2 separate regions of the Homo sapiens genome follow, and region 1 is linked to region 2. Evidence: promoter capture Hi-C in 16 types of primary human blood cells and fetal thymus (Javierre and others, 2016). All regions are on one chromosome and are shown on one strand. Each heading gives the region's core, a stretch centred on a gene start or on the middle of the fragment in contact. The rest is flanking DNA. Distances are from core to core; before and after follow the strand shown. Region 1 overlaps CHUK (component of inhibitor of nuclear factor kappa B kinase complex). Region 2 holds the start of ENTPD7 (ectonucleoside triphosphate diphosphohydrolase 7).

Region 1 (5,426 bases), core at 1,820-4,319, 530 kb after region 2:
TTCTATCATTTGTGCTGAAGTCTCCCTGTGAGATGAAAGAACAAAGCCTTTTCAAACTCAGGAAAAGGGCATATGAATTTCCTCTACTTTCTAGTCTTCTAGGTTAGCAAGATCACTAGCCTTCCTGTAACCCAGTACCCCAGTGCAGTTGACTCCTGTAGTCTTTAGTTTCCTCATCCCTCCCTACAGAGGCAGAGTCCTGTTAAGACCAGGCTGCTGCCTCTACCTCTACCTAACTAATGATAAGAAGTCCACTATAACTCCAGTCTGACTTTCCTCTGAAATGTAAGATGCACTTATGTACAACTTGTTTTTCCCGTGAAAATGTAACTAGGGAGGAAAAAATCCTTGTGGCAAAGACAGATGAAATACGTTTTTGTTTCTAAATACTTCTCTTTCCTTAAAAGTAGTAAAAACACCAGCATGCATACTTCACAGACACAAATGTAGGGGAGAAGAGAGAAAAGTAAAATCTGTTCTGTAGAGATCACAGAAAGTGAAAAACTCATTAGAAACTACAGATGATAGCAATGAAACGAAACAAGCAAGCTGATTCCTGAGGACAGCAAAAGAAAACAGTGTGGTGGGGGAGCTACCCAGAACCAAGAAGTATCCCTGGAAGTTCATATTTGAAGGCAGTCCTGATTGTGGTTTCTACCTTCATGCTTTCCTCTTCTATATGGCCTCTAGCTTCTCCCTTTGCCAATCTTCAGTCCCCTAACAAGAGTCCGTTTTAGGTCATGGATGATAGCCACTATTAGCTTAGAATGACATTCTGATTCAGCTCTTATCCAACAGATGGAAAAATTATGGTCAAACAGTTCCCAATCCTTGGTAGTTAAGTACCACAGGTACATTATAATTGAAATCAATTTTCTTATACAATGTATTCTGGCTGGACATGGTGGCTCATGCCTGTAATTCCAGCACTTTTGGAGGCCGAGGCAGGTGGATTACTTGAGGTCAGGAGTTCGAGACCAGCCTGGCCAACATGGTGAAACTCCGTCTTTACTAAAATACAAAAATTAGCCAGGTATGGTGGCACGCACCTGAAATCCCAGCTACTCGGGAAGCTGAAGCAGGAGAACTGCTTGAATCTGGGAGGCGGAGGTTGCAATGAGCCAAGACTGTGCCACTGCACTCCAGCCTGGGCGACAGAATGAGACTCCGTCTCAAAACAAAATATAATGTGTTCCTTCTAGAAAATACATTGAAAATGTCTGTCAGATATACTTTTGCAAGCAACTACACTTCAAATTGGAAATTACCTGTATTGTGGTGACATTTGTAAACATTAACATCCGCTAAAAAACTTAAATGCCTTTAATAAAGGCAAAAAAGTAAGTAAAGTATTAAATTTTACTTCCTTCAACTCTGATTACTGGAGTATTTTGTAAAGTCTATATATTTAATTATAGCCTGTGCTACAGTTGTAGGTGTACTGCATTGGGCCACATGTATAATGACCCCAAGATATATACCCTGGAACTTGCTTTCTTTAAAAAAATAAAATACCTGATATCAGCTTGCCTTCCTGCCATGTGCTTTTCTCTCATAAAAGTAGAGTACAGAATGTGCAACTGCATGACCTCCTGAGCAGTGATGTAACATGGCTGCACTTCTGCAAAACTAATTATGGGCAGAGCTTCCAGGAAATGCTGGTGCTGTAGAGGTCTCCATGAGTTGTGAGAAAAGCGACAATACACAAGCTAGCAAAGAGCCACTGGCTTTGGATACGGCACATCTTAAGCTGAGAAAATAACAGAAATGGATAGTCATTCAGCTTTTAGCAAAAGAGTAGGAATTAATAAAATATAGGGCTTGGAATCTGAGTTCTTGCAAAACTGATTTAAAACACTGAAAAAAGTCTAATCTTAGAAATACAAAGTTATAAAATAGATCTCAAAAATTTATTAGAAGGGTAATCAAGGATCCCCAAAATGATAAATGCAAAATGATAGCATAATTTCTCATAAACTGTTAATGAAGGAGTAAGGTTTGAGTAAAAGAAAGTAATAAGCCAATAAAAGAAAGGACTTAGAACTTGGACTTAGCTAATAATAAGCAACATTTGAGCTAATAATACGCAACATTTGCTGAACATTTATTTCCCAAGCACTTTATATACATTGTCTAATCAAATTTCCACAGCAGTTCTATGAGACATTCCTGTTTTACAGGTGAGGAAATATGAACATCAAAAAAGTCAAGTAAGTTGCCTAAGATTATTACAAAGGGATAGTCAGGACTCAACCCTGGTCTGAAGGCACAGAAGACTACCTTAACAACTACTGCCTCATTCCTATACCACTGCTATGAAAACACAGCTATCTATTGTTACAAAGTAAACCCACCCATCTTGAGGAGTTACCACACATGACAGAGAATGATCATGTTCTGCTGAAGTCGGGGGCAGCCATGCTGATGTCTGAGGGGTTACTGCACCTTCTAGACTGGATCCTACAAGGGACCGGGCAGAACTCTGTGTCTGAAGGAAAAGAAAAAAACATCAAAAGATTACAGGCAAGCATCTCTGTTGATTCACACAATTTCTTATCATATTCCTAAGACTTACATTTCCGTTACTACTTATATGCACAACCAGAGTATTTCAGTACAAAACTATTCCCACCTTTACACACCATTAGTAACCTGTCCTTGGACCCTTTCTTCATTGACTAAAACCAAATATATCCACTCATCTTATACCATTTTAGTTGAAGAAAGAAAAAAAAAACCCAGTTGAATAGATGGTCAATTTCATTATCTAGGCAGGTACATCTATCCCCAAGTTAGGTTGGAATACCACAGTAGTCAAGGGCTAAGAGGAGTATAACAACAGAGAAATTGGAAAGGAGAGATGATAATAAGTCCTGCATCTCAATTGCTAGTCTGGACACCAAGCAAGGAACATGGATGTCATCCCAATGCAAAATATACATGTCTTCAAGAGGGCCCACCTCATGCTGATAAAAATCCCCTTTGCAAGGAATAATAGCAACTCAATGTCACATTAAATAATTCATTAATAATTACTTACACAGGCAATTTTAAGGAGATGCCATATTTCTTTCTGCCTTTTTCCCTGCATGAACATGACAGTATTGTCAGCTTCTTTGATATTACTGAGGGCCACTTCCACCTTAGGGAGTAGATCAATAATCTTCTGCTTACAGCCCAACAACTTGCTGGAGAGATTAAATCAGTGTCAGACACTTTCACATGCCCCAAGACTGTACACCATATTCCCAAAACCCAGCTGAGGAAATGAACCACAATCAGCATCAGATTTAATGACTTATCTCCAAAGTAATGCATACAAAAGGACACATAAATGCAGATAGCTATGGCCAAGCTACCCAAGGTACCTTCAGAATTCTTCCTGGGTAAGTATACTTTACCAAAGAGGGCTTTTGTACTTTGAGAGGAACAAGATAAACGTATCCTGGTTTTTCAGTAGGAAATGAAGCAATTTTCCTACCTCAAATGACCAAACAGCTCCTTGAGCACACGGTCCTGACTCTGCACAGTGTGCACAATGATTTTCACCATCTCTGTGCTGTCACTGTAGGAGTGATCTATAAAAGACATCAGTCAGTGGATATAACCTTTCTTCTGTAACATATCAGCCTCCAAACAAAAAATTCCTCAAAAATCCCTGAAACTCTGAAACTAATTTTAATTAATAAACATCTCCATTTAAATTAAAAATTGGGTTAAGATAAAAGATATAAAGATTACCTATAAATAAAATCTAGTTATATATAAAAAATAAAGTTTGCAGGTGTATAATGTATATATAAATTTATCAGTAAGAGACCTTAGTTGCCTGTGCTTGAGAACAATAGTCTTGGCTATCTTTAACCCATACTAACCCAAGCCCTAGACACAAATGCAGCCTCTGGCCAAGGGAACAATTTTTCTTGGATGATTAACCACATATTTAGAAACAGTAGGACAATTCATCAAACTTTCATTACCTAAAGGAAGGAGGCCCTTGAACTAGGTTGCTTGGAATTTCATGTTTATCCGTCTGTTTACAACCCAGAAAAACTTTGAAAAAAGCTCATTGAAACCAACTAGTAAAGGGACCTGTAGACATCCTGAAAGTTCCATTTGAGGGCAGTATGACATCTTAAAGCCAACTGGCAGCAGCCAGATACCCTCAAATGGGATGGCTGTTGGTCACAATGGGTTCTACAGTTTAAAATGTGACCTCGATTTTAAAAAAAAATCATTAATTGTTATATTTCAGAAAATGGCTAAAGGAGTTGAAAGTTGCTTATGCATCATGCTGGTATATTCTTTGGACAATAATTAAGCCTAAATGCAATAATAATAATATTTGCTACTCTCTGCTTATAATTTTCCCATTTAATCCTCACAGCAGTCATGTGAGAAGACTACTTTTGTTACCCCCATTTTACCAAAAAGGAAATGATGAGCATCAAAGGAGGTTTAAAAAACGTTGTGTCCTTTGTTATCTATCACTCCAAATACTTCCCCCATAGCCCAACTTTATTCCCCACACATCTCTGTTGTCTCCTCCTCACCAACAATCAAATGCAAGGCTCCAAAAAGGTTCTTCTCCAAACAGCATTCCTTCCTAAATACCATGGACCAAGCCAAGAGCTTTCTCATATAACTAGCTCCTTAAGACAGTGAAAGCCCTCAGAACTTTAGCCTTCTCCAGGATAATGAAGAAAGCTGGTTTTAACCATTTCAGATGAACAAGAGATTCAAGTCAACTCTAAGCTAGAAAAGACAATAGAGGCCACAAATCAAGTGTGATTATATAATAGGCCCCAATGACAGACACAATCTTGTTACAGTTTGTCACTCAAGGTGACACTCAAAGAAGCTACCTGGGTAGCAGTTTATTTCTGAGCTTCATGGTATGTTGACAGGGCTGCCTCAAAGTTTTAAAAAATATAACCTAAACAAATGCTATCACTGTGTATCTGTGGTATCTGATTCATTAGCCAGAAAACTGGGAGTCAGAATTTTTTTTTTGAAATGGAGTCTAGCTCTGTCACCCAGGCTAGAGTGCAGTGGCACAGTCTTGGTTCACTGCAACCTCTGCCTCCCTGGTTCAAGCAATTCTCCTGCCTCAGCCTCCAAAGTGGCTGGGATTACAGGCATGTGCCACGACGCCTGGCCCAGAAATATTGATTAAAGAAAAAGAATTGGACTTGCTCTATTTGAAATCTTAGATTTTAATATTTTACTCTAGCTACAACTTCTATCACTTAAATCACTATTTGTTAACATCTTCAACCTTTTTATCCTCTTATTCCATCAGCAAAATCCTAACCTTGGATTAATCCAACCATCTGCTCTATCAGTTCCTGTATCCAAGCTACTAAATTATCAACAAAAAATTAATATTACTGTTCACTATTTGTCACTGCTAATTCACAGGTTTT
Region 2 (5,547 bases), core at 360-2,859:
TCCTGGCCAGGTGCAGCTGCTCATCCCTGTAATCCCAGCACTTTGGGAGGCTGAGACAGGAAGACTGCTTGAGCCCAGGAGTTCAAGACCAGCCTGGACAACATAGTGAGACTCCATCTCTACAAAGAATTAAAAAAAAATAAGCTGGGCATGGTGGCACGTGCCTGTAGAGCCAGCTACTCAGGAGGTTGAGGTGGGAGGATCGCTTGCTCAGGAGGTCGAGGCTGCAGTGAACCACGATCGCACCACTGCACTCCAGCCTGGATGACAACAGAGTGAGACCCTGTAGGTAATTAAGTAAGTAAGTAGTTTTCCTAATGTCCTGACAGGCTTTGAGTCGGCCAAATGCAAGTGATGGTGACTGACTCCCTTGTCATAGTAAGCTTTGAATAAATAAAGCATTTGGGTGGTCTTCCTCCCCGATCCCCCCCATTCATTCATTTGCTTATTAATTATACATTAGTTGTGTTTTATCTGCCAGGCAGTGGCCAGTATTGGGAATATGTGGAAGCAAATAGTCCCTGCCTTCAAGGATATTCTGTCTAGTGGGACAGACAGACAGACATATACGTATAATAGTAATTCAACGTGCTAAGTGAAACAATAGGCATGTATAAAAAAGGTGTAGTAGGTCAAGTAGGGCTTTTAGGGGAAGGCGACCCTTAAGATGGGTGGTAAGGGATGAGTAGGAGGTGATTTGGCTAAGAGGCTGGGACGGTTATTCAAGGCAGGTGGAGGGGCAGAATGAGCAAAACAGGACGCGTTGCTGGAGCGTGGTAAGGAAGGCAAGTAGCGGCAGAGGACGGCGGTAGGGCGGATCGTGGGGCGCAATGGATGTGCCACGTTGGAAAGAGCTTGGACTTTATGCCGTCCTCCTGGAAATGAGATAACGGCTGGTGTAAGCAAGAAAGAAACACACACACACCCACGCGCGCGCGTCGTTTCCTTTGTGTTACTGTAAGGTCAAGGAGGGCGGCGACACAGAAATTCATGATGACTGGCATAAGCAGACATTCAATGAATGAATGAATGGACATAAGCACTTTGGTGTAAACGTCATTGTCTTCGATTTCTGTTTTCTCACGGGGCAAGACAGTGAGGTCGGGGCATCAGTTTGGGAGGTGATAGGGAAGGTTTAAGGTGAGAGAACTGCCATTCTGGTAGGGAGGGTCAGTGGGCACAAAACCAACAATAGGTTATGGGCAAGGGATGCGCTTCGGTCGCGAACACCCTGAACCCACCTACCGGAGCTACTCTGTCCCAGGAGCGGCCGTGGAGAAAGCAACCAGCCGAGAGTTCGCGCCCCAGGGAGGGAAGCGGGCACAGGGCCGCCCAGCGCCACTCACCTGTGAGCTCTCCGCGGGCCCTGCAGGCGGAGCCTCGGTACGACGCCTTTCCGATTGGGCGCGGCTCAAAGTCCCGGGGCGGGCATCAGAGGCCGAGCGCTCTAGGGGATTGGCCACCCTGGCGGACGGACGTGCTGCTGACCGAGCTGGTTCGCCCCCGGTTCGGCTCGTGGAGAGCCGGCCCCTCCGTGAGTCTTCTGTCAGTCATTGGCTCCCTGCGGTTTCCTTGGGGACGTGGCGCCGCCGCCGGCCGGGCCCTCCTTCCGGCTGGGCAAGGGGCCGCGGGGAGCAGCTCGGGACTGAACCGAGAGGTGCCGAAGGAACCGGCGGGCCGCTTGATCCCGTGAGTGTGGGCGCGAGAGGGCTGTGGGACCCGGAGGGACGGGGAGAGGAAGCGGGACCCACACCCCGCCACCTGGGGACGACCGGTTCCTAGAGGACAGAGCTGGCCCACGAGAACGCCCCGCTCCCAGGATGCCCGGGTAGGGTCCCCTGGGCCTGAGGAACCAGAGCAGACGGAGCGGGAGCCTGGGGAGGAGGTGGGAGCCGTGGAATTCCCGTGCAGGTTTGTCTCGTGGGCTCAGTCGGACAGAAGCCTGAAATCAAATCTTTCTAGGCTGCAGACGTAGGAGATGCCTGGGACAAGGAGGCCACCTTCTCAGGGCAAAAGAAAAAGAAGGTGACAGGCGTTGAGACCACCGAAGGGAACCCATGGCTAGGTAAGGCTGCACACTTTCCCTCCGGCTGGGAGCACGGCAGAGGATGGCAGGCAGGTTGGGGGGCCCTGGGAGGCTGTCCCAAGTGAGGTTTGCCCTGGAGCTGCACTTGGACTTTGTATTCTGGTTAGTTGGATGCAGAGACGATCAAAGTTGTATTATTTCGAGGGCTGATAAATAATAGTTTCTAGCCCATAGACCAGGAGTGGTAGAGTGAGTCGGCTTGCTCAGCTCTGTAAAGTGCAAGGTTGTAACATTGATTCAGATTCGCATCTGAGCAAGGCTAGGTGCCACTTGAGGAGGTTAAACAAAGAAGTTTTTTTGTTTTTTGTTTGCAGTGAACTTTAAAAGCAGACAGACCGAGGTCCTTTTGAATCAATATACAAAGTGAACTTCACAGATGAATACACTTATCCATACATTATAATAACCTGAAGCTTTTAAAAAATATTAATGTGGATCTACATGCACCAATAAGGGAAAGTTATAAAATAAAGTGGGGGAAAGATGCAGAACAGCAGGTATGGTGGACTACCATTTGTGTAAAACCGAGGGAATGGATACGCACACACACACACACACACACACACACACACACACAGAGATATATTACTGTAAATATATTGGTGTATATTTATGCTTGTGTATCCGTAGAATATCCCTGGAAAGATACACAGCAACGGCCAGGTGCAGTAGCTCACGCCTGTAATCCCAGCACTTTGGGAGGCCAAGGCAGGCAGATCACCTGAGGTCAGGAGTTCAGGACCAGCCTGGCCAAGTAGAAACCCGGTCTCTACTAAAAATACGAAAATTAGCCGGGTGTGGTGGCAGTCACCTGTAATCCCAGCTACTGGGGAGGCTGAGGGAGAAGAATCGCTTGAACCCAGGAGGTGGAGGTTGCAGTGAGCTGAGATTGCGCTACTACACTCCAGCCTGGGCAACAGAGCAAGACTCCATCTCAAAAAAAAAAAAAATTACACAGCAACTGGGTAGTAATGTTTGCCTCTGAGAGATTGTGGGGTCAGGGCAAGAATCACTTTTCACTATACAATATATCCTTTTAAACTGATTTGTCTTTTACTATGTGCTTGTATAATCTGGTAAAACATTTTTAAAATCAGTTAAATAAATTTTCTGACCATCCTGTTTCTTGACAGAATTCTTGGTTGGGAATACTGTAGTTGCTCTGATTCTCCAATGTTATGAGGTTGCCCAGGGAGACTGGTGATCTTTTCACTAACATGAGATTAAGTCTTTGAATTGCACTCAAAGTGCAGTTTGGAAAAAGGGCAGATAAGGCTTTTCTGATATATATAGTAGAAGCACCATGAGCTTCTTCTAAAATTAGAGATGACAAGAACATTTAGACTTCTGTTGGCATGGATTTTTGCCTTTATTAGGAGGGTTTTATCCAATTTTAAAACGATATTTAAGCACTCAGTTGTAGAAATGTTTCAGACTTACTAATGTTTGTCTAATTTCAGGATCAGTTTTTCCTACCTCTGCCCAGCCTCCTGGTACTTCACTGTGCCCACAGTGAGTCCATTTCTCCGTCAGCGGGTGGCATTCCTGGGACTCTTCTTCATATCCTGTCTCCTTTTACTTATGTTAATCATAGACTTTCGACATTGGAGTGCTTCATTACCACGAGATAGGCAATACGAAAGGTGAGTCAGCTTTAGATTTTGGCACTCAAGTCATAAATATTTTCATAAGCTGTTTAACACACTACTGACTTTGACCCTTTTGGGTGATACTGTACTTTTATTAGTAAAATTGCATGCCATTTATTACATAAAGAAGATTTTAAGCCCTATTTTGGCAATATGCAGTTTGGTACAGGAATACTGATACTGCATGAAAGGCATCTTTGTGTTTTCTTGTTTTGGTGGGCTGAAACTTATTGTGTGTATAAATGTTTAGGACTGTATTATACCTTTATGAATGGACCCCTTTATCATTATTAAATGATTTTCTTTATCCTTGATTATATACTTTGCTCTGAAATCTACTAGTCTGGTATTAATATAGCTACTCCAACTTTCTTTTGATTAACATTAGCATGACAGATATTTCTTCTATAGTTTTAGTTTTAGCCTATTGGTGTCTTTATATAAGTGGGCTTCTTGTAGTCAGTGTTTGGTTGGGTCTTGTTTTTTTATCCAATCTGACTATCTCTGCAGTTAATTGGGGTGTTCGGGCCATTTATATTTAATCTGATTATTTAGTATGTTTAGTTTTAATCTTGCTATGTGTTTTTCATTTGTCACATTTGTTCTTGTTCTTTTTCCTCTTTTTCCCTCTTCTTTTCAGTTGAGCACAGTTTTTATGTTTCCATTTTATCTCTCATGTTGGCTTATTAGATATAACTTCTTCTTTTTTTAGTGGTTACTTTAAAGTTTATAGTGTCATCTTTAATTATCACAATCTTCCTTCAAGTAATATTACTCCTCTTCACATCTAGAACAAGAACCTAACAACAGTATACTTTCATTCCTCCCTTCCCCTTGGTCTTTCTGCTACTGTCATGTATTTTATTTCTACATGTTATAAGCTCCACAATATATTGTTATTATTTTTGTGTTAGTCAATTGTCTTTTGAAGAGATTTTCAATATAAGAAAAAAAGGCTTATGTATTTAACCATATTGTTGCCTGAAAGGGTCATATAAGCAAAGTGACCCTTGAATGCTGAAGGGACGGAGAAACCAAAGGAGGAGGCAGGCAAATTGTTCGTTGGTATTCATTGATTTATTGAGGGAATTTGCAGACAGAAGCGTGGCCCTGGGTAGCTGCAAGACAGATAGATCTCCATACTGTTACTCCCCAGACCCAGGGCTTATATAGTACAGGGAGATGGTATATGCACCCTGTGCAAGACAATTAAAGACAGCCCTCCAGAACAGGTAAGAATGCTGCATGTGCCATATCCTGTCATTTGTGTGCCAACACCAAGGTTGACATGTTCTTACAGTAGTAAATAAAGCAGGAATCAAGAGGCATTTACGGGACTGAGGCTAGTCAGAAGTCAATGTGGCAGATTAACATCCAAGATGGAGTCACTTTTGTCTATATTTACCATTTCTGGTCTGCTTCATTCCTTTGTGTAGATCCATATTTCCATCTGGATCCATATTTCCATATTTGCTTTTACCTCAAGAACATTCTCTAGCATTTCTAGTAGAGCAAGTATGCGGTGATAAATTCTTTCAACTTTTATATGACTGAAAAAGTCCCTATTTTGCTTTCCTTTTGAAAGAAATGTTCATTGGGTATAGAACTCTAGGTTGATCATTTTTTTTCCTTTCATTACTTTAAAGATGATGCTTCACTGTCTTTTGGCTTGCATTCTTTCTGAGATGTCTGCTGTCCTTTTAATCTTTGTTCTCTCTGTATAGAATGTATCTTTTTCCTCTGAATACTTTTAGAATTTTCTGTTTATCACTGGTTTTAAGCAATTTGATTGTGATGTGCTTTGATGTTGTT

Evidence for each region. Contacts are between HindIII fragments. The CHiCAGO score rates a contact against its expected background, and 5 or more counts as called.
Region 1: a fragment that was not itself captured here is called in contact with the fragment with the promoter of ENTPD7 in region 2 in 1 of 17 cell types (monocytes); the score reaches 5.7 in monocytes.

What each region holds. Positions count from the first base shown.
Region 1 is chr10:100,190,944-100,196,369 of GRCh38, forward strand. CHUK (component of inhibitor of nuclear factor kappa B kinase complex) reads right to left here. Exons shown (of 21, transcript NM_001278.5): 17 at 3,482-3,578; 18 at 3,041-3,188; 19 at 2,355-2,488; 20 at 1-25. Among named protein-coding and RNA genes, the nearest start is that of ERLIN1, 7.6 kb to the left of the region's middle. The HindIII fragment of the contact is 6,783 bases long and covers 1-5,426 here.
Region 2 is chr10:99,657,900-99,663,446 of GRCh38, forward strand. ENTPD7 (ectonucleoside triphosphate diphosphohydrolase 7) reads left to right here and starts at 1,610. Exons shown (of 13, transcript NM_020354.5): 1 at 1,610-1,689; 2 at 1,963-2,065; 3 at 3,547-3,729. The coding sequence starts at 2,058. It also overlaps a transcript of SLC25A28 not described here. RefSeq lists silencers at 1,289-1,498, 1,619-1,838. The HindIII fragment of the contact is 2,116 bases long and covers 382-2,497 here.